5 separate regions of the Homo sapiens genome follow, and all the other regions are linked to region 5. The links are contacts of gene promoters, found by promoter capture Hi-C in blood cells and fetal thymus (Javierre and others, 2016). All regions are on one chromosome and are shown on one strand. Each heading gives the region's core, a stretch centred on a gene start or on the middle of the fragment in contact. The rest is flanking DNA. Distances are from core to core; before and after follow the strand shown.

The links. The method cuts DNA at HindIII sites, captures the fragments that hold promoters and counts their contacts. A CHiCAGO score of 5 or more calls a contact.
Region 1: a contact is called between a fragment that was not itself captured here and the fragment with the promoter of RAB17 in region 5, in 1 of 17 cell types (megakaryocytes). The highest score is 5.1, in megakaryocytes.
Region 2: a contact is called between a fragment that was not itself captured here and the fragment with the promoter of RAB17 in region 5, in 1 of 17 cell types (fetal thymus). The highest score is 5.3, in fetal thymus.
Region 3: a fragment that was not itself captured here is called in contact with the fragment with the promoter of RAB17 in region 5 in 1 of 17 cell types (megakaryocytes); the score reaches 5.0 in megakaryocytes.
Region 4: a contact is called between a fragment that was not itself captured here and the fragment with the promoter of RAB17 in region 5, in 2 of 17 cell types (fetal thymus and M1 macrophages). The highest score is 5.1, in fetal thymus.

What each region holds. Positions count from the first base shown.
Region 1 is chr2:237,094,995-237,098,766 of GRCh38, forward strand. It overlaps COPS8 (COP9 signalosome subunit 8), which reads left to right. Exons shown (of 8, transcript NM_006710.5): 6 at 828-890; 7 at 1,828-1,875; 8 at 2,669-3,772. The coding sequence ends at 2,748. Among named protein-coding and RNA genes, the nearest start is that of COPS8, 11 kb to the left of the region's middle. The HindIII fragment of the contact is 1,129 bases long and covers 1,486-2,614 here.
Region 2 is chr2:237,142,270-237,146,206 of GRCh38, forward strand. It overlaps LOC124906127 (a long non-coding RNA gene), which reads right to left. Exons shown (of 2, transcript XR_007088143.1): 1 at 1,451-3,937; 2 at 1-1,202. Among named protein-coding and RNA genes, the nearest start is that of COPS8, 58 kb to the left of the region's middle. The HindIII fragment of the contact is 186 bases long and covers 1,251-1,436 here.
Region 3 is chr2:237,116,565-237,120,571 of GRCh38, forward strand. No RefSeq gene overlaps it. Among named protein-coding and RNA genes, the nearest start is that of COPS8, 33 kb to the left of the region's middle. The HindIII fragment of the contact is 764 bases long and covers 1,381-2,144 here.
Region 4 is chr2:237,161,153-237,165,034 of GRCh38, forward strand. No RefSeq gene overlaps it. Among named protein-coding and RNA genes, the nearest start is that of COPS8, 77 kb to the left of the region's middle. The HindIII fragment of the contact is 1,854 bases long and covers 876-2,729 here.
Region 5 is chr2:237,589,284-237,591,983 of GRCh38, forward strand. RAB17 (RAB17, member RAS oncogene family) reads right to left here and starts at 1,451. Exons shown (of 6, transcript NM_022449.4): 1 at 1,184-1,451. It overlaps RAB17-DT (RAB17 divergent transcript), which reads left to right and starts at 1,877. Exons shown (of 3, transcript NR_187201.1): 1 at 1,877-1,984; 2 at 2,589-2,700. The HindIII fragment of the contact is 11,150 bases long and covers 786-2,700 here.

The DNA of each region.
Region 1 (3,772 bases), core at 800-3,299, 490 kb before region 5:
TGTTGCATTGTTTTGCCATGATTGACATTTTTGATTCTCCAGCTAAAATATGAGCACCATCACGCACTACATCCTAAATTTCCAGGGCCTAGCATAGTTGTAGATACATGAAGATAGGTTAATGAAAGTTCTAAGTTATTACTTTTATTTACTCATACAAACATTTATTTCTTTTGGCTCTTAAAATTGGTCCATCATTTATTTTCTATATATAACATACTTCAGAGCTCGTATTCTCAGCTGACCACCTGGATGTGAATGCTGGTACCACCCGTCCCTGATGCTAGTGGCTATGTGACTTAGGACAAATCACTTGAATTTCCCTCAACTTTATTTTCCATACCTGTCAAACGATGGCCCTATATCCCACTTCATAGAGTTGTGGTGATTACATAAAATCATCCCTATAAAAGCACGTAGTCTGGTACCTACAGGTAAACCTTCCATATATGGAAGCTGTTTTTATTATTGCCATCTTTGTTATTACTGATATGATGGTCACAAAAGGCGCCATATCAGTTTTCCTTCTGTTTGTTTTAAATAATACTGATTAGGTTAATACTATAATATATTCTTGACAGAAAACTAACCATCTTTTAATGATTATAGCAACCTAATAGAGTAAAATGAGGCTTTGATACCTGTTTCAGAAATATTTCAATAATAAGTTTCCATGCTCTTTGTAATATACCTTTCTAGTAAAAATGCATATGACGGGTTATACTAAACACATCAGGTCTTCTGTACAACTAATGTCATGGACAAGTTGTGGATTTTGTGGGGTGTTTTATTCTTTCCGGATCTTTATGTGTAATATACTTTTTTAGGCATATTAGAACAAGGATGGCAAGCTGATTCCACCACAAGAATGGTTCTGCCCAGAAAGCCAGGTAGGTGGAGCTTTCACCCATTTACGCAGCACTGGACTCTTCTAAGACTGCTTCAGGTTTTCAGTCTTTGGTTTTTGATAATTGGATGTAAAATTCGGCTATACTAACACAATGGAAATAACTCATTTTAAATAAAGCGTAGTAGACGGGGTAGAAAGGATCACCTAGTTTAAACTCTTAAAAATGTATTTCCTGTATATAAATGATTTTACGTAGGTTTTTCATGGTCCTTACACCTTAGTTTTTACTAAATATTAATCTCCATCCTTTTATGGAGCCATTTGTAACTGAGCTTATCCTTCATATCCAAGCTGTTGTCTGTATTAAAAAAAAATGTTTAAATATTCAACTGCCCCCCTTTTCTGTTTGCACTCAAGTCATACAGGCACTTTTCCTGTGGCTTCCACTTTCACAGAGTTAACTTCTCTAGCCCTCCTTTTAAGGCCTTAATTTCTATGACCTGCCCTCATTGTCTTTATCTGAATTCCCAGCCCCTCAGTCTTCCTGTTGGAAGTGAGCCACACTCATTCCCGCCTGATAGTTTCTCTTCCTCCTGCTGACCAGGAGTGTCTTTTCTGCCAGGTCTTTAGAGCCAAGCTTAATGCCCACTTCCATAAACCCGCCTTCATCCACGTCAGCCCAAATTTCCTTCCACCTACTCGGAATGCCTATGTTTAGACATTGCTGAACATACAGTAAAGGATTCTCAATGTGCTCAGCCCTTTGAGTTACAAAGAGTGAGAAGACATGATCCCAGTCAAGTGAGATAGTGGGGGAAGAGTAATATAATAAAGAATTATAATGGAGCACAGTTGTTATCCCTGTTTGAGAAATAAATGGCCGTTAAATGCATGTTGTGCTGAAAATAGCATGTTCTATGAAAGATCTTTACAATGACTTCTGTAAATTGAGCTGTACATTTTTTTTTTGAATTTAGTTGCAGGGGCCCTGGATGTTTCCTTTAACAAGTTTATTCCCTTATCAGGTATGTATTTTCATATGCACATTTTTTAATGTCTCATTGTTCCTAATTTCTTTTTTGTAGTATATATGTATATGTGTGTGTGAGTGTGTGTATCTATTTCTTACCTTGTAAACAGAGGTTAAATTTCATAAATGCGTAGTAATACATCTGGTTACAAGAGTGAAACTGGGCTCCCCCAGAGCTTGCCTTGAGGCGGTGCCCTCCTCTGGGCCAGCTGCAGAGCCTTCTTATTCTCATGTCAGGGAGGCCTGCCAGAGCTGTTCACCAGTACTGTTATTCAGAAGGCGTCCCCAGGCTGACGTGTAGTAATTTAAATGTTGGAATGTAAATTCCTTGAGGTTCTTTGTGGGTTTTCTTTTTTTTTTTTTTTTTTTTGGTTTGTTGACAATTTAATATTCTTCAGTGATGTCTGGGGCATGGGAAGCACTCTATTTCTTGAATTTAATGTTGCATGGGTAAGGATGTTTTCAAGAAGAGCTGTGATCTTTTAAAAGACATGTTGCATGATAAAAGTGTCTTTAACCTTTACATAGAATACTTCAGTAACAACAACATGAGACATGCCTTTACTAGCAGTTAGGTAAAACCATACTCATAAAAGTTGCAACTTCTTGGCTTGCTTTTCAAAAATGTCCAAGCCTCTATGATGTAAGATTTTGTCTAAAACCAGGACAAATCTAAGAAAGTTAACTTACTGTTAAAAATTGAAGGCATTAGGGGAGGTAGGTGTTGGGGCCAAAGCTTTGTTACTGTGGTATGTAACATGAAGTGTGTTTGTTTCTTTAACATACAGAGCCTGCTCCAGTTCCCCCAATACCCAATGAACAGCAGTTAGCCAGACTGACGGATTATGTGGCTTTCCTTGAAAACTGATTTATCACTCTGAGTTCAAGATTCATCTTCAGAATCCTGTATACTGACAAACGTAGAAATGTAAAGTTTGTATTTTCAATTTATTGGATGGCTTAAGCACCTCAGCATTCCTTACTATGTGATAAAATACATATAGAATATAAGATATACTATATACATTTTGTCCATAAACGTTATGCTGAATAGTTGTTGAAACAGTTCTCATTTTGTAGTATTTAATAATCTGGATGGAGCCTGTCAGTATTACAGTTAGTTTTCTAGTGACTCATAAAATAAGATTTCCTGTTTCATGTAGAATAGTGTTTGTCAACTGTCTTTTCTCTGTCCCAGCACATGCCGTACTCTTATATGTACCATTGGTTGATAATTATAATGATTCATTTGGACTTGAAGAAAGATTGTCCCCAGGCACAGTATCTGAATCACTGGGGATTATGATTCACCCTCTTTGGAGAACATGCTCTCTTTTCACCCCCCACCTCCTGAGAGCCACTAATGTAAGATACAGAAACATAGCTGAGGAACAAATAGACCATTTCCATACTAAACCAGTTTGTTAACTTTAGATTTTTTCCAATAGTGTGAGTATATCCATTGCTGGCAGTGGAGGGCTTGCCATGAAAATGCAACTTATTTAAGACATTTATGAGACATATTAACTTGTGCTGTCGCCTTTTAGAAGGAGAAACTTAAGTGTGGAATGCATTATATGGGCAAAGAAGCTATGAAGATACATGATACACTTTGTACAACTATCCTGCAGCCCATTGGTTGCTTATATTTATCGCTTGGCTCAAGTTCTGCCCTTTGGAGAAATACTGAGCAAGTCTTTCATTCTCTGTGTGACAGCCCTCTGAATATTTGAAGTTGTTTGTTGTAACTTAAGGTTATAACAGCCCTTAGTTCATTTACTCTGCATTTGTTCAATAAATATTTAACTGAATTCTTCAATTATTTCATCTAAGATAGTTTCTGGAAATTTCACTCTCGATCTTTCTGTGGACACAATCTATTTTGTCATTGT
Region 2 (3,937 bases), core at 94-2,593, 450 kb before region 5:
GGTTGGATGGAAGGAAGGATGTACCAACTCGTGCATATTGGGCATGTATTGGAAAACCCCTCCTGGGAAGAAAGTGGAGGCCCCAAAGAGCCTCAAGCTTGGAATGCTAGGCTCCTAAGGGCATGGGGCTGTGGAACAATTTTGGAAAGGGTGGTGGGGTTTAGCACATGGGTGGGTGGAAGCCGTGGGTGCTCTGAGTGGCTCAGCTTACATCAGCTAAAGCACAAATCACCAATGGGGGACCCTGAGAGCTGTGTTCTGTTTCCTAATGCATGATGCTCCCTATAGGATCTGTCTTCTTCTTCCCACAGTCTACCTTCTTAATTCAGACACAGACAACACCCTCAAAGGCACAGCAACATTGAGGTGGACTGGCAGTGGGGCAGTTAGTTGACAGGGCAAGGGCAAAGGTGGCAAGTTATCCAGAAGCTCATAGGATAATCCCCCTTAGTTGGTGACATGCCATCCTTCACCTGTATGTATCCTGAGCTGGGACAGATTGTGGTAAGAAGTCTGAGGAATGGGAAAGGATATCTTTAGATCCTGAAGATCATCTTAGATATGACTCAGAGATAGCAATGCATCCGTTCTTGTGCCAGGCCAGCCACTTACCAGCTGTGTGACTTCTGGACCTCAGTTTCCTCATCTGTTAAAATAGGTCTAATCTCAGCACCTACTGCATAAGATTTTTGTGAGGATTACATGTGATGTGTGTAAGGCACCGTAGCTTAGTGATTTCAGGATTACTACTTCAAACTAGTTCCCCTAGATTCAGTGCTAGGCACTGAGAACCCAGGCAGAGGTAGATGTTTAAATAGTATTTGTTAAATTTGTTATTATCATTCATTTCAGTTATCTGATGCTACAAAACAAATCCTAGTGACTTACCCCAAAACATAGGGGCTTAGAACAACAAAATATAACTATTACCACAAATGGTTTCTTGTGGATCAGGAATCCCAGGCACCTTGGCTGGGTGGCTCTGGCCTGAGCTTTCTGAGGAAGGTTCAGTGAAATGTCAGCCAGGATTGCAGTCATCGAAGGCTAGAGTGGGGCTGGAGGAGTCACCTTCAAGGTGGCTCATTTGTGTAGTTAGCTAATTGGTGCTGCCTGTTGGCAAAGGCCTTGTTCCTCCGTGTGGGTCTCTCCATGTGGCTTGGGCTTCCTCACATAATAGTGTCTTGGTTCCAAAGGTGAGCATCCTGACACCCAGAGAGAGAAAGAGAGAGAGAGAACCAGCAGGAACATCAAGCTTCTGCCATACTCCATTGGTCAGGCAATCACAGTCCCTGCCCAGATTTGAGTGGGGGAAACTAGACCCCACATCCCATTGGGAGGGATGAAATGGGATAAATACATGTGAGTACAAATATGTGTCCTTGGAACATAAAATCTGACACATTATTGTTCTTCTTATTATTAGAATTTGAGAGAGAAGCTTCATACCCACCTTTTGTAAAAGTTACTGGCAGTCAGAAACTGGTCTTGTCTGTCCCATGTGTGAACAGAGGTGGACCTTTCTTGCCAAGCTCCTGGATTGATAAACAACGTCTGGAAATTTTTTTTTAATGAAAATCTTGGCTGGGTTAGTGATGGAGCATGAGAAACAGAACACAAAGAACTATTCAATGATTCATCAAATTTATATCATATTGCAAAATTCTTGCACTTAAAAAAACTGGCTGTGAAAATCAGTGTCATAGGTACCCATGATATGTGGTTTTAAAGAAGAACAGAGGTGGAAGCACAGACTTTAGAGTGTCTGGAGGGAATCTCCCTCACTTGGCTTTATGGTCTCCAGTCTACTCCATCCTCTGACCCTGTTCAACCCCTTACTCTCAATGTATGACCTTGCATCCTTCTCAGAGAAAATAGGAACCGTCACATGGAGCACTCTCACCTTTGCACCACCAAATCGGCACTCCCCCTTGTGTCTTTTTTAAAATCTCCTCTTCCTTTTCCCCATTACAATGAAAGAGTGGTCCCTCTTCTGACTGCAGCTAGCTCCTCTTTGCCTGCTCTGGATCCCATCCCACTTCTTCATTCCAAGGACCACTAACATGTCGACCCCCACCGCTGTCTGTCTTTGACATTTTGCTTGTATTTTCCCCTTTTCAACAGTTCATGCCATTCCCATATTTAAAAGCACCTAAGAAATCCCCATCAACAACACCAATCAAAACTACCACCAACACCAGTACAAATAATCCTCTACACAGGCTGTACCCCCCACCACTCCCATCTGATTCCCTGCAGGTACTGTCCTGTCTTCCTGCTCCCTTCACAGATAAACTTGCCCTAAACAATTGTCTTCACTTACAGTCCCCACGTTCTCATATCTCACTCCTTCCTCAGTTCACTTCAATCTAGTATTTGCCTACATAACTTCACTGGAATTGCTCCCACTGTTGTCCTCAGTCAATCCAGTGGACACCTGTGGTCCTTCCCATCATGCTGGGTCTCTCTGTGGCAGTCTCCACTACTGACTACACTCTTGTGTGTAGAAACCATCTCTTATCTAGGCTTCTGGAACTAAACACTCTTGGTTTGCCTTTTAGACAGACTCCTCCCTCCTCTGCTTAACCGTTAAGCTTTGCAGTTTCTCAGGCACCCTCTTAACGGAATCTTCTCCTCTCACTTCCAATAGTCTGAGGAGAGATGGATTGAAAAAAAAAATGCATCCAAGCAGTTCAGACCCCAACAGTATTCCTCTCTTTGGGGCATCTCCTCCTATGGACATTCTCCTCCTCTACTCACCCTTCACCAGCTCTTCCTGAGTTGGCTGAATGGGAGCACTTGAGGGGGATAGTAGGAGTACATATTAGGGATCCCTATTGTGGGCACAGATTGAGTCAGCCTTTCCAGTTTTATCAATAATAAAACATATTTTTTTATTTCCATCTGACACCTGTGCCTTATCTCTTAAATTTTAAAGGAGAAGAACGAGTTATTGTTTATGGTTGTATTCAAATTCCAACATACATAATTACTGTCCGGTTGCCCTACCAGGCAGTCAACTCCATGAGGTCAGAGACTACCTCCGTATTGTCCACTCTGATTCCTCAGCACCCAGCATAGCCCCCAACACATTTAAGACAGTAACACTTGTATAGAATATTTCAATTTTCAAAACACATTTGCATAAATATTGCATGTAATTTTTACCATAATAGTATTCTGCACTCCCATCTTCCCCAGACCCACTTTTAAAGTTAGGGATTAAAGTCTGAGAGAGATTAAACAATGGAGATTGAGAGCCATTGAACTAATAAATTTTCCAGGATGTAAAGAGAAGTTTTTCTAATATTAATAACAATTTTTCTAAGTCCTGGTGTTTCAATAATTGTTATACAACTTGGGTATGCAACTGAATCTATATGAAATGTTTTAAAATAAATCTACAATTAAGAGATTTGCCAGTGTGCTCAGTAATTTTCAGATTTGTCAGCTTCTTCATTTCCAGAATGGCAGAATGAGGAGATTGTCAAATCCTCTCCCCAAAAAGTAATAATAAAACTGGACAAAATTATCAAAAACAACCATCTCAGGACTGAAAATTGACCAAAGCCATACAACAAATTGAGAAGCATTTACTCAAGATAAACTACTGAACCTCAGGTAAGAAAAATAGTGTGTGGTATTTTTAAGCCTGGGGCTACTTCATTTTCCCATCCCCCAGCTTAGTCAATGCAGTAATTCTACCAGGGAAAGCATACCTTAAAAACCAGCACCTCACCTGCTAGAGGTGGCTTATTTGGTTAAAAGCTGTGCACAGAAAGACCCCATGCTCAGATGTGTTGCTGAAAATAAGTAGAAATCTCAGTGGCAAATGAACAAGAAAGGAAATGTCATGGCTAGCTCAAAGTTTAGATACTGCTTGGAGCAACCAAGACTGGCAGACTAGCCAGAAATTTAACAAGGAGGTCCAAGTCATGAG
Region 3 (4,007 bases), core at 513-3,012, 470 kb before region 5:
CTCACATAATTCCCAGAAATCCATTTGCAGAATTTTTGCCTTTCATCTCAGGTTATAAGAACATTTCTCACTCTCTACTTTCTGCAAGTTAAACTCAGAGCAACTATCCGTAACTGATAAGGAACCAGATGTTTTACAGCCCTGTAAAATCAAAGTTACACTCCCTGAGAGAGCTCAATGAAGGTCAACTGGGCTTATTAAAGAAATTGTTCAGAAAGATAACAACAATCATTTTGACATTTTCCAAGTTTTGGATAAATAATTTTTAACACATGTCATAGAAGGAATGTTTGCAAAAGGAAAGGCTATTCAGCATGAGAAGAAAAGATGGGTGGGGATGATGATTGTCTTCAGATATTGGACTGACCACCATGTGGAATAATTTTGTTTATTGCTTCAGAAGGCAAAATCAAGAAGGTTAGAAAGACCAGTTTTGACTCAACACAAAGAAGAGCTATTTAACTGCCTAGACCAGCACTGTCTAATAGAGTTAGAAGACACACCTCACATATGTAACTTTAAATTTTCTGGATGCCACAGTAAAAAGGTGAAAAAGAAAAACAGATAAAATTAATTTTAACAACAATCTTATTTAGCCAATCAAAAATATTATTAGTTCAACATGTCATCAATACAAAAATATTAATGAGATATTTTACATTCTTTTCTTTATACTACATCTTTGAAATCCCATGTGTATTTTACATTTGTGGCACAGCCCAATTTGGACTTCCACATTCCAAGTGCTCAGTAGCCACACAACTTGTGCGTATCAGTTGGTGATGGTCTAGATGGTCTCAGATAGTGTGAGGATCCCATCAGTCAGATACCGTTGAAGCCAAGTTCAATAACCACTGATCAAGGCTGTTTTGAAGGAATGTTCAGGCACTGGTTATGTTAGGACAGTTACCAGGACTCCCCTCCCCTTAACCTGTCTCCACCTTTTATAGCAAAAGCAGGAAGAACAGAATTCCACCTGATAGCATCCATCCCCACTGCCCCCATCCATCCAAATGATAGCAGCAAGGGCAAATACACCTCCTGGAGAGATTAGCAGTTTTCCAGGAGTCTTCTAGCTTTTAGTGTGTCTGGGGGATTTTTACAACCCACAATTAAACTCTGCATTGAAAAGCAGGGGGAAGAAAGGCATCTATTGCCTCTTAGCTGAGCAGCCCATGAACTGGAGTAAGTACCTCCTTGTTAACAAATGCCATGCCTGGATTTCCTCTCACCTGAGAACCCTTGCTATCACTGCAGTTGGAGAAAGGTAAGGGTTTGCCGTTTTGCTAGAGTCAATAACTTTTGAGTAATCTGCATCATATTTGTGGTTGAGCAAAGTAGTAACTTTCCTCTGAATTTGTTGCTTCTCTAAGTAAAGGAAGCTTTCAAAATTAGTGGAAAAGATTGTGTAGTTTTATCCAAATATCTAAAGACAAGCTAAAACCAGGGTGGACATTTTATTCATGTAAATGATTGATGACATTCTCCTGGGTCAATTGAGATAGTGGGAAGCCAGGAGTCTTTGGACATCTTTTTAAGAAATGAGTGGACTTGAATGAGCATGTTGTGTGCACCCACCTGACCAGCATATGTGCATCCTGAATGTGAATCATGATTTTTTCTCCTGGGTGGAGCTGCAGGAAAAGATTTCATTCTAAATGAAAGAGGAACTGGACCATTTTTAACTTGTGAGTCACATGATGGGAGGAATTGCCAAAAACAGTTTTGATTGAATAATGTTCTCCTAATTGTGCACCTGCACCTGATCTCTAAGAAGAGCAATTCAGGACAAAGGGCAAAATGCCCAGTGCATAATAATGCATAAGGTAATAAGAACCTCTTCATGGCTATCCTGTGTCGGTTAAATAACATGGTTTGAAAACTGAATTAGGTTGTTTGTGAGGTTGGGCAGTGAATGAGGTCAATCGAGTAAGGTCCAAAAAATTCCAAATCCATTTGGGAGCCTTAAGCCTGTTGGATGTCTCCCCTTATAACCCTGATTTTTAGCAGACTGGTGAACAAGATTTTCAATGTATTTCTGTCATAAAATACAAAGAATGTAAATGGAAATATGGGAGTGTGGCCTCAACTGCCTTAACTTTGCCTGAGGCAATTTAATATGGACCAACTTCAAAAGATTAGGAAGCTTTAGTTTTCAACATTATCTTACATTGTCAACATTATCTTGGCTAAATGTTTTGATGCTGCGTCTGGTGTCTTTCATGTGACTGGAGCTGTGGATGTAGATGCAGGAATCTGTGCAGGGCAGCTTTTCTGTATTTCCACCCATCCCTTCCTCAAGATAGCAGAAGGGCTCTGACAAGGAAAACCAAACACATGGGGTTGATGCTGTGTTTGAAAACCCTCTTGAGTTGAGATGTGTAAAGCATGTGCTTAGCCAGAGCCAAACATCTGCTTGATTCTCACTCCTCGCTGTCACCCGGTGTCTTGTTGTTTACAATGTGCTGCCATAACTCACTTGGTGTGTAGGGTCATTCCTACCACTTCATTCCTTGAATGTCCGATCACCATCACTGCTGGCTGAAACGCAGTCCCTTCAAAGGCTTAAATAAGTCTTTTCTAAGGGCCGAAGAAGTGCTCTTGAGTTATTAGATATTTTTGAAAAAAAGGTTTTCTTCATGTTCTTGCTTTTTAAATAGTTTGTTTGGCCCTTGAGTCGTCAGTTCTTTTGTCATATGAGTGGAATGGATAAGTTTACTAAGACTTGGCAAGGAAGAAAATCTATGGGGAATTAGAGGCTGAATTCCTAATAATTAAGAACAATTTTTAACGTTTATTTTAAGTTGAGGGGTACATGTACAGGTTTGTTACATAGGTAGGCTTGTGTCATGTGGGTTTCTTATACAGATTATTTCATCACCCAGGTATTAAGCGCAGTACCCATTAGTTATTTTGTGAGGATGAAGAGAACAAAAATTATTTAAAAGACCCAGCCAAGGCGTTATTTTAGGGGCTTGTCACACACTTGTCACTCACCAGTTTAAATGATCAAATCCACATGTATGCTAAATTTAAGCAAAAATTAAAATATACAAAACCTAACAAAATTATCCTGGACATCGACTAAGAATAAAAGCCGGTCACCTGCAGTGTTGGCATAAGGGAATGGCTAGGGGGTGAGCAGTGCCATGGCCCCTCTGCTTGGAGAAGTGCAGTGGCTTTAGCTGCAAGCTCCAGCCCTGGTCCAGCCTGTTAATATCATCAGAGACCGTTAGGTTGGCCCTGCACATTCAAACCATGTGGCCCTGCCTTTGACTGCCGCATAGAATGTGAGAGCACCCAGCTCTCATCAGAAAATTAACCCCAAACACTCTGTATCCAGGTTTTATGAAAGGTTCAGTTGTGAAAAATATTCTCAAAGTGTGCTTCCTGGACCACAAGTTGGGCATCGCCTGGAAGCCCCAGTCCAGACACACTGAATCAAATCTGCATTTAACAAGACCCCAGTGATTCTTGAGCACCCTGATGCTTGGGGCAGCAGCTCTGAGGATTTACAGTCTCTCCATTTCAGCCCTCACTGTGCACTTGCTTGGGGCCTGTGCCTCTGGGGCGACAGTATGAGAAGGAGGCAGAGAAAACGACTCGTGTATTCTACTGAAATATGGAAAGGGCTGTGCCCTGTATCACCAAGTAATGTTTTAAGTGAGAAATTGCTCTCTGATATGGGTGTCAAGAGAGGGCCTTGTGGATACTGTGTATCTTACAATTGGTTACTTCCATCATTTTGCCTTGGCTTGTAGAGAGCTCAAACTGAATACAGAGCCCAGCAGCTGTTCACAGGCACGTGGCATTCATTTTCCTTCTTGTTCAACTTGCCAGCTCCCCTTTCCCTCTACTTACTGCCCACACACCCAGCTCTTGTACTTAATTCTCTTTCTCCTGAATGTTTTTTGGTAACTACCTTCCATATTTTTTGTAAAGCAAGTGGGGAAATATATTAATATATTAATGCCATTAATGAAAACTAATGGTCATCTCTGATGGTG
Region 4 (3,882 bases), core at 553-3,052, 430 kb before region 5:
ATATGGGCTCCTGAGGGAGGTTCCCGATGGAGACTAATCACAAACACCTTTGTACCACTTTCCCACACCCCTGTGGTGGCCCATCCCTAGGTTCTGTGAAAACTGGAAGAAGACATGCCACATGACAGCTGATTTTAATTGAGAACTGGCCCATATAGTTTAGTACAGAAACTTGGAACAAATAAACGATGAATATCCAGCCAACATCACATGAGAAGTCATCAGGAGGAATCGGGAAACGGCAGATCCAGCTTTGACCCAGCAACTTCACCGCAGGGTCCAAATGCTGCACACTGTTTCCTTCTGGAGCCTCCTCAGTGTGTCCAAATGATGAAAGACCTCCCCCAAGAGGCTAGGATCTGGAGGAGAGGCGTGATGTGTCCAGAGGGATGACAGCATCTGGCAGGGCAGGAGCAGGAAAGAAGCAAAGTTAGATTGAAAAGCCAAAAACGTCTTCTCCCTCTGTAATGGGAGCTTTAGGAAGGAAGGTGGGCAGGACACCCAGGAGTCCCTTACTAATGAACAATGGGAGCTGGGATGGGAGCCTGGTGATGCCTGGACCTTCTGTGGCTCTGCGACGTGGACAGCAGCTGCCAGAGGAGGGAGGCCAGGCTCCATGACAGCCCTCAGCTTAGGTGTGCGATTTAAGAGGTTTTCCCAAAGAATCTCCTGTCTTTCAAAGATCTGCTTCACGGGTGGTGCTAGGGTCTGAAACCCCCACTCTAGACATTCCTTTGAATGAGGTTACTGGAGAGCCCTTCTGCCTGTGACCATGCTACCTGGAAGGTCATCTGTCCTCATCTGGAGAAGGGTGGTTGTCCCAAAATGGAACAAGTTAGTACCTGCCCCCAACAGGGCATGATATTTTTTTTAAAAGCTTTGTTTTGAGAACCTAGGCTGGTAGTTGTGGGGCTTCAGGGAGGGACAGGGCATGTCAGGGAAGGAGTAAAAACAGGAGCAGTGGTAGATCCAGGGCATCCTATTCAACAATTTCAGTGGCGGGTACACTAAGGCCACATACAGTATTTGTGGGTCTGATGATATTTGAGAACTAGTTGAAAACCTTTGCAAAACTAGTTTTGTTTGATTATTCTGTTTTTTTTAGTGCCCCGTCTTAAAATTTGGCCATCTGGAAAGATGAGAAGTAGTATCTCAGCTTGTTTTAATTAACAACTTGTGAGGCTGCATATCTTTTCAAAAGATTGTTAGCCATGTTGGTATATTCTGCTATCAACTGACTACTGATGCTTTTTGTCTGTTTTTCTATTAGAGTGTTTATCTTTCAGTATATCTATTTCTATCTATCTATCCACCCATCCATCTATACCTATTTTGAAGGATTTCTTTTTTTTCTTTTTTTTTTTTTTTTTTTGACGGAGTCTCCCTCTGTTGCCCAGGCTGGAGTGTAATGGTGTGATCTCGGCTCACTGCAAGCTCTGCCTCCCAGGTTCATGCCATTCTCCTGCATCAGCCTCCCGAGTAGCTGGGACTACAGGTGCCCGCCACCACGCCTGGCTGATTTTTTGTATTTTTAGTAGAGATGGGGTTTCACTGTGTTAGCCAGGATGGTCTCAATCTCCTGACCTCGTGATCTGCCCACCTCGGCCTCCCAAAGTGCTGGGATTACAGGTGTGAGCCACTGCACCTGGCCTGAAGGATTTCTTTATAGAATCCAAACACTAATCTTTGATTAGATCATAAATGTTTTATGTAGCTTCCCTTAAACAGTGACTTAACTTTGGCATTTCCTTGTTGTGAAGAAGTTTTCAATTTCTAGTTAGTCAGATTTATCTTTCTTTTTCTCCATGTGTGTTTTCTTTAAGAAGTGTTCTTTTGCTCTAAAGTTACAATATTTTCTTTTAGTCTCTTCTAAAAGTTTTCAAGTTATACGATTTACATTTAAGTCTTTGATCTAGTTGTCCTTGCTCTATTTTCTAAACTTTCTGTTCCTCTCTCACTGATCTTCAAATACCATCGTGGTCATATCTAAGTTCCTGTGTGTGTGTGGGTATCTTTCTTGGCTCTTGGTTCTGCTCCATCAGCAATATTTATATTTACTGGAGTCAGAAACTCACTGTTTGAAATGTTAGAGCTTTATACTAGGTCTCAATATTTGGGTGAGTCCTTTCTTCGCATTCTTTTCTAAATAGTTTGGCCATTTGGGGCTATTTACTTTTTTTTTTGGTGGGGGGAGACGGAATTTCGCTCTCGTTGCCCAGGCTGGAGTGCAATGGCATGACATCGGCTCACTGCAACCTCTGCCTCCCAGGTTCAAGTGGTTCTCCTGCCTCAGTCTCCCAAGTAGCTAGGATTACAGGTACCTGCCACTATGCCCAGGTAATTTTTTATATTTTTAGTAGAGACAGGTTTCACCATGTTGGCCAGGCTGGTCTTGAACTCCTGACCTCAGGTGATCCACCTGCCTTGGCCTCCCAAAGTGCTGGGATTACAGGCGTGAGCCACCATGCCCGGCCTATTTACTTTTTCATGCAAACTTTAGAATCAACTTGTCACATTTATTAAAAACCCTGTTAAGAGTTGTATTGCCCTAGTATTAAATTTACACACTAATCTGGGAGATAATTTGAATCTTCCTATCCGTGAATATAGTTTTTCTCCTTCTCTGGTTTTCTCTCCCTCTCACCATTTATTTAAGGCATGTTTGATATCCTCCAATGCAATTTTATTATTTTCTTGCCAAACATCTTTTATTTTTACTTATTCCTTGAAGCTTTTGAACTTTATGTTACCGTGAGTGCAATCAGTATTTAACTTTGTTACATTCTGTGATTTGTCTTTTCTGGTGTGCAGGAATGTTGTTGCTTTTTGAATATTGATCTGCTATCCCAGAGCTTGCTGAATTCATCTTTTAAGAATAATAGTACATAGAATCTTTTGATTTCATATGTCAGTGATTATTTCTTCTGCCAATAATGACAATTTGGTTTCTTCTTTTTCAATTTCTTTACCTCTTATTTAATTTTTCTTTTGCTATTTCAATGTCTGGAACTTCCAGTAAAATGATAAATAGAAACTGAGACAGTAGGTTAATGTTTTTTTTGTCTCTGACATTTAAGGGAATTAAAGAGAGTATTTCCATAGCCTCACCATTTAATGTGGGGTTTCTTGTGATCTCCTAAAGCCTTGACCAGGTTAAGGAAATTTTCTTGTATTCCTGGTGATAAGTTTTACTAAATGTATTTTCTATATATATTGAGTTGATCATATGATCCTCTCGTTTCATCTGATAATGTAGTGAATGATATTAATAATTTTGTAATGTTTCACTACCCTTGTATTATTGGTATACATATCACTTAATTATACTTTAAAAAATCTTTTAAACACATTGATGGATTTGGTTTACTAATGTGTCATTTAGAGTTTTTGTTTTCATGTTCATAAGTGAGATAATTTCTTTTGTATCATACTCATCTGATTTCAGTGACCTAACTTATAAAATGAGTTAGAACATGTTCCCACTCCGTCTGGTTTCTGGAACAGTTCAGAAGACATGGATAGTCTGTTCTCTTTCTGTTTGAGATAACTTCCCGTAAAATTGTTGAAAGTGAGATTGGCCCGTGTATTTCTTTTCTCATGCTGTGTTTTAATGTCGAAATCAGTATGAGCCTCTTTTAAAAGTGAATTTGATCCATGTTTATGGACACTGATCCCGTTTAATCCTATCATCTGGTTTGTGGGTTCCTAACTTCCCTCTTCCGCTCATCCCTTTCCTGACTGCTGTGGGATGGATGGGATCTGCCTTTCCCCTTTCTACCTCCACATTTGTGCTTCCTTTCATGCCTTTATCGAGCACAGCACGTGTGTGTGTGATTGTTCTCATTTAAGTCTTCGCTTCTCTTATACTTTCACACTTTCATC
Region 5 (2,700 bases), core at 201-2,700:
ACTCCACCCCCGTAATACAACCACAAATGGTATTTTTGCCTACTTCTAGTTTTTTTCTATGACTCCTAAAAACAAACCAAAACCCATAGTTTTAACATAAAATTATTATCCGATGGGTAAGAAATACTTAATACCAAAGGCAGTCTCACACATTGCTTCAAAATCATGTTTAATGGACATATAACATTTCTACAACTATCTCAACTTGCTGAACCATTTTCCTAATACTGGATTTTTACTTAGTTTTAATTTTTTCTCTGTAATAAGACTGCAGTAAACATTTTCTTATATAACTTTTTGTGTGATTGAGTGTTGTAAGCTTTCAATAATGAGAGGTTGGAGCCTTCTGTCCAAAGAGAAAATTAAAAGTGTGGCACCTGACCCCCACCTCCAGAATTTAATCAAGATGGGGTTATTAGTAGTGAAAGATGTTATTAGGTTGTTGAAGACAAAGATGTTTTCAGGAACACCATATTCAAGACTGGCGCTTCTCTAGTAATCTTAACTTGGGGCTTTTTAATCTCTTGCACCTCCCTTCCACTAAAGGGAAAAAAAACGGAGAGCAAATCCCACATTAGTCTTTTTTGCGGGGAAGGGGCCATTCCAGGGAAGGGTCTGATTGATGAGTCTATCGGCAACTGTGATCCTGTGTCACCCTTGCCTGGGGCCTGTGAAGAATATTGAGATTACGAGAGGTACACCTGTACATTGCATTCAGAATACAGCCATCTGATACAGAAAACACAATGTAGATTGTAAAAAGGAGTTTACAAGAAAACCTGACAAGCTTCCTAGATATCACTGGGTATTAAATTGGGAATGTTGATGTCATTTGAAATGGATTTCTTTAAGAGTTCTTCTCATTACCAGAAGTTTTTTGTGTTTTTTTTTTTCAAGACCTTAAAACCGGAACTTTCCCGAAGAAAAATGCAAATAAGAATCTCCTTCTGGGAATCCGACTTAGTGAGCCATCAGAAATCTGAACTAGGAAGTCTCCGCCCCAGCTTTGTCCTTTGATTATACACACATGGGCACATGCACAGACACAAACAAATACAGACATGGGTACAAACACGTGAGCACACACACAGACACACAGAGACTCACACACAGAGAAGCAGAGACACACACACACACAGGCAGACACTCCACAAAGGGCACAGAGGTTTAAACAATGACTCACCTGTTCCCCAGGCCCGGTCACTTGCAGGGAGCTGAAGAGCCTGTCATCACCAGTCCACAGCGTTGCTACCTGTCTCCGCTTTCTCCTCTCTCTGGTCCAGGGGAAGGTTTGCTTCCCTCCACAGGCAGGACAGGACAGGAGGAGCCTCTACTCCAATGGAAAACAGCCGCAGAGCAGAGGTCAAGAGCAGCAGCCTCGGACCAGAGCAATGCCCACTGGACCCCAGCGCCAAGGTCAGGCCTCTTCTCCTCCCAGAAGGTTTCAGGGCAAAGTCCACAGTGGTCATGTGGTCACCTGAGGCAGGGCAGGAGGCTGGACCTCAAAGCAGGTGACCCGGGAGCACCTGCGCGCTGCCGGAAGTCAAGTCACATTCCAGTCCTGCATTTCCTGGCACCCAACTGGAGCCCGTTTTTCAGCTTTATTCCGGGGTTTCACTTCCAGGATCTCACTTTGGCACAGAATGTTTTTCTTGGCTCCTTCCTTGGAGCTGTATGGAATCTTTGTTGCACTTGAAAAACCAACAGCCCAGAAGAGAAAAGAATATTCCGGTCAGATGAATTAATTCCTCCCACTGTCAGCTAGAAGCCATCCCTGGCTGAGCCCTGCACTGGCCAGAGGCAACTGAGTGTGAGCCAGTCCAGGGTCAGATCCTGGGCTGATGCCACCTGAGGGCGGGGTGGGGGCGTGGCCTCCGTGCACATGGGAGACTCCAGGTGCAGGAGAGGGGGAGGTGGACTTCCTCTTGGTCTTCCCAAGCCATGAAACTTCCTGGCTTGGTGGTAACAGAAGAGTCTCCTCCAGGTAAGATTTCCAGAGCCTCTGAGTATGGCTGGGGTAGCAGGGTTGGGCCTGAGGCTGAGGAGATGGAAATCTGTTGCCGTGAACATTACTCCACACAGCCAGTATACGGGAAGCCAGCTCACTTTATGTCCTCCAAACTCACCCTAACTTCTCGTTTGGGTCTCATCCCGCGGGGCTGCTGGGAAATAAGCTCCGCCACCACAGTGGTTCCTCCGCCCTGTGGGAGTGGGGGGCTCTTATGCTGGAGGGGGGACACTGGCCTGGACTTCTGCTGAGGCTCTGCCCCTCATCCCTGCAGGACGGACTAGCCAGTCCTAACACAGGACTAGCGTTGCTCTACCACGTCCAAGCCTCCTCTGAGATTCTTCCTCCATGCAACCACTTCCCCTGGGGCGTGGCCACCTCCCTGGAAGCCGCCAGCATGCTCGGCTGGGCCCCCGCACTCTGGAGGCTTGAGAATCTCTCTATTTTTGAATGACGTCCTTATCCTCTGCCCCCAGGCTGGTAACCAAAGGTCTGGGGGTGGTGACGTGCTGGGAATGGTGTAACTCGTGAGATGGAGGCTGAATGTGGAAATACATGAATGTGCTTCTCTTCTCTCCAGTTCCCTTGAAGAATCCACCTTCCTGCAGGGTTGGGGGAGCGCAGAATGGGAGGAAGATACAAATACCAATTTTATAGCAAGAATGCAAAAAGAGGCCAGCGCGGTGGCTCGA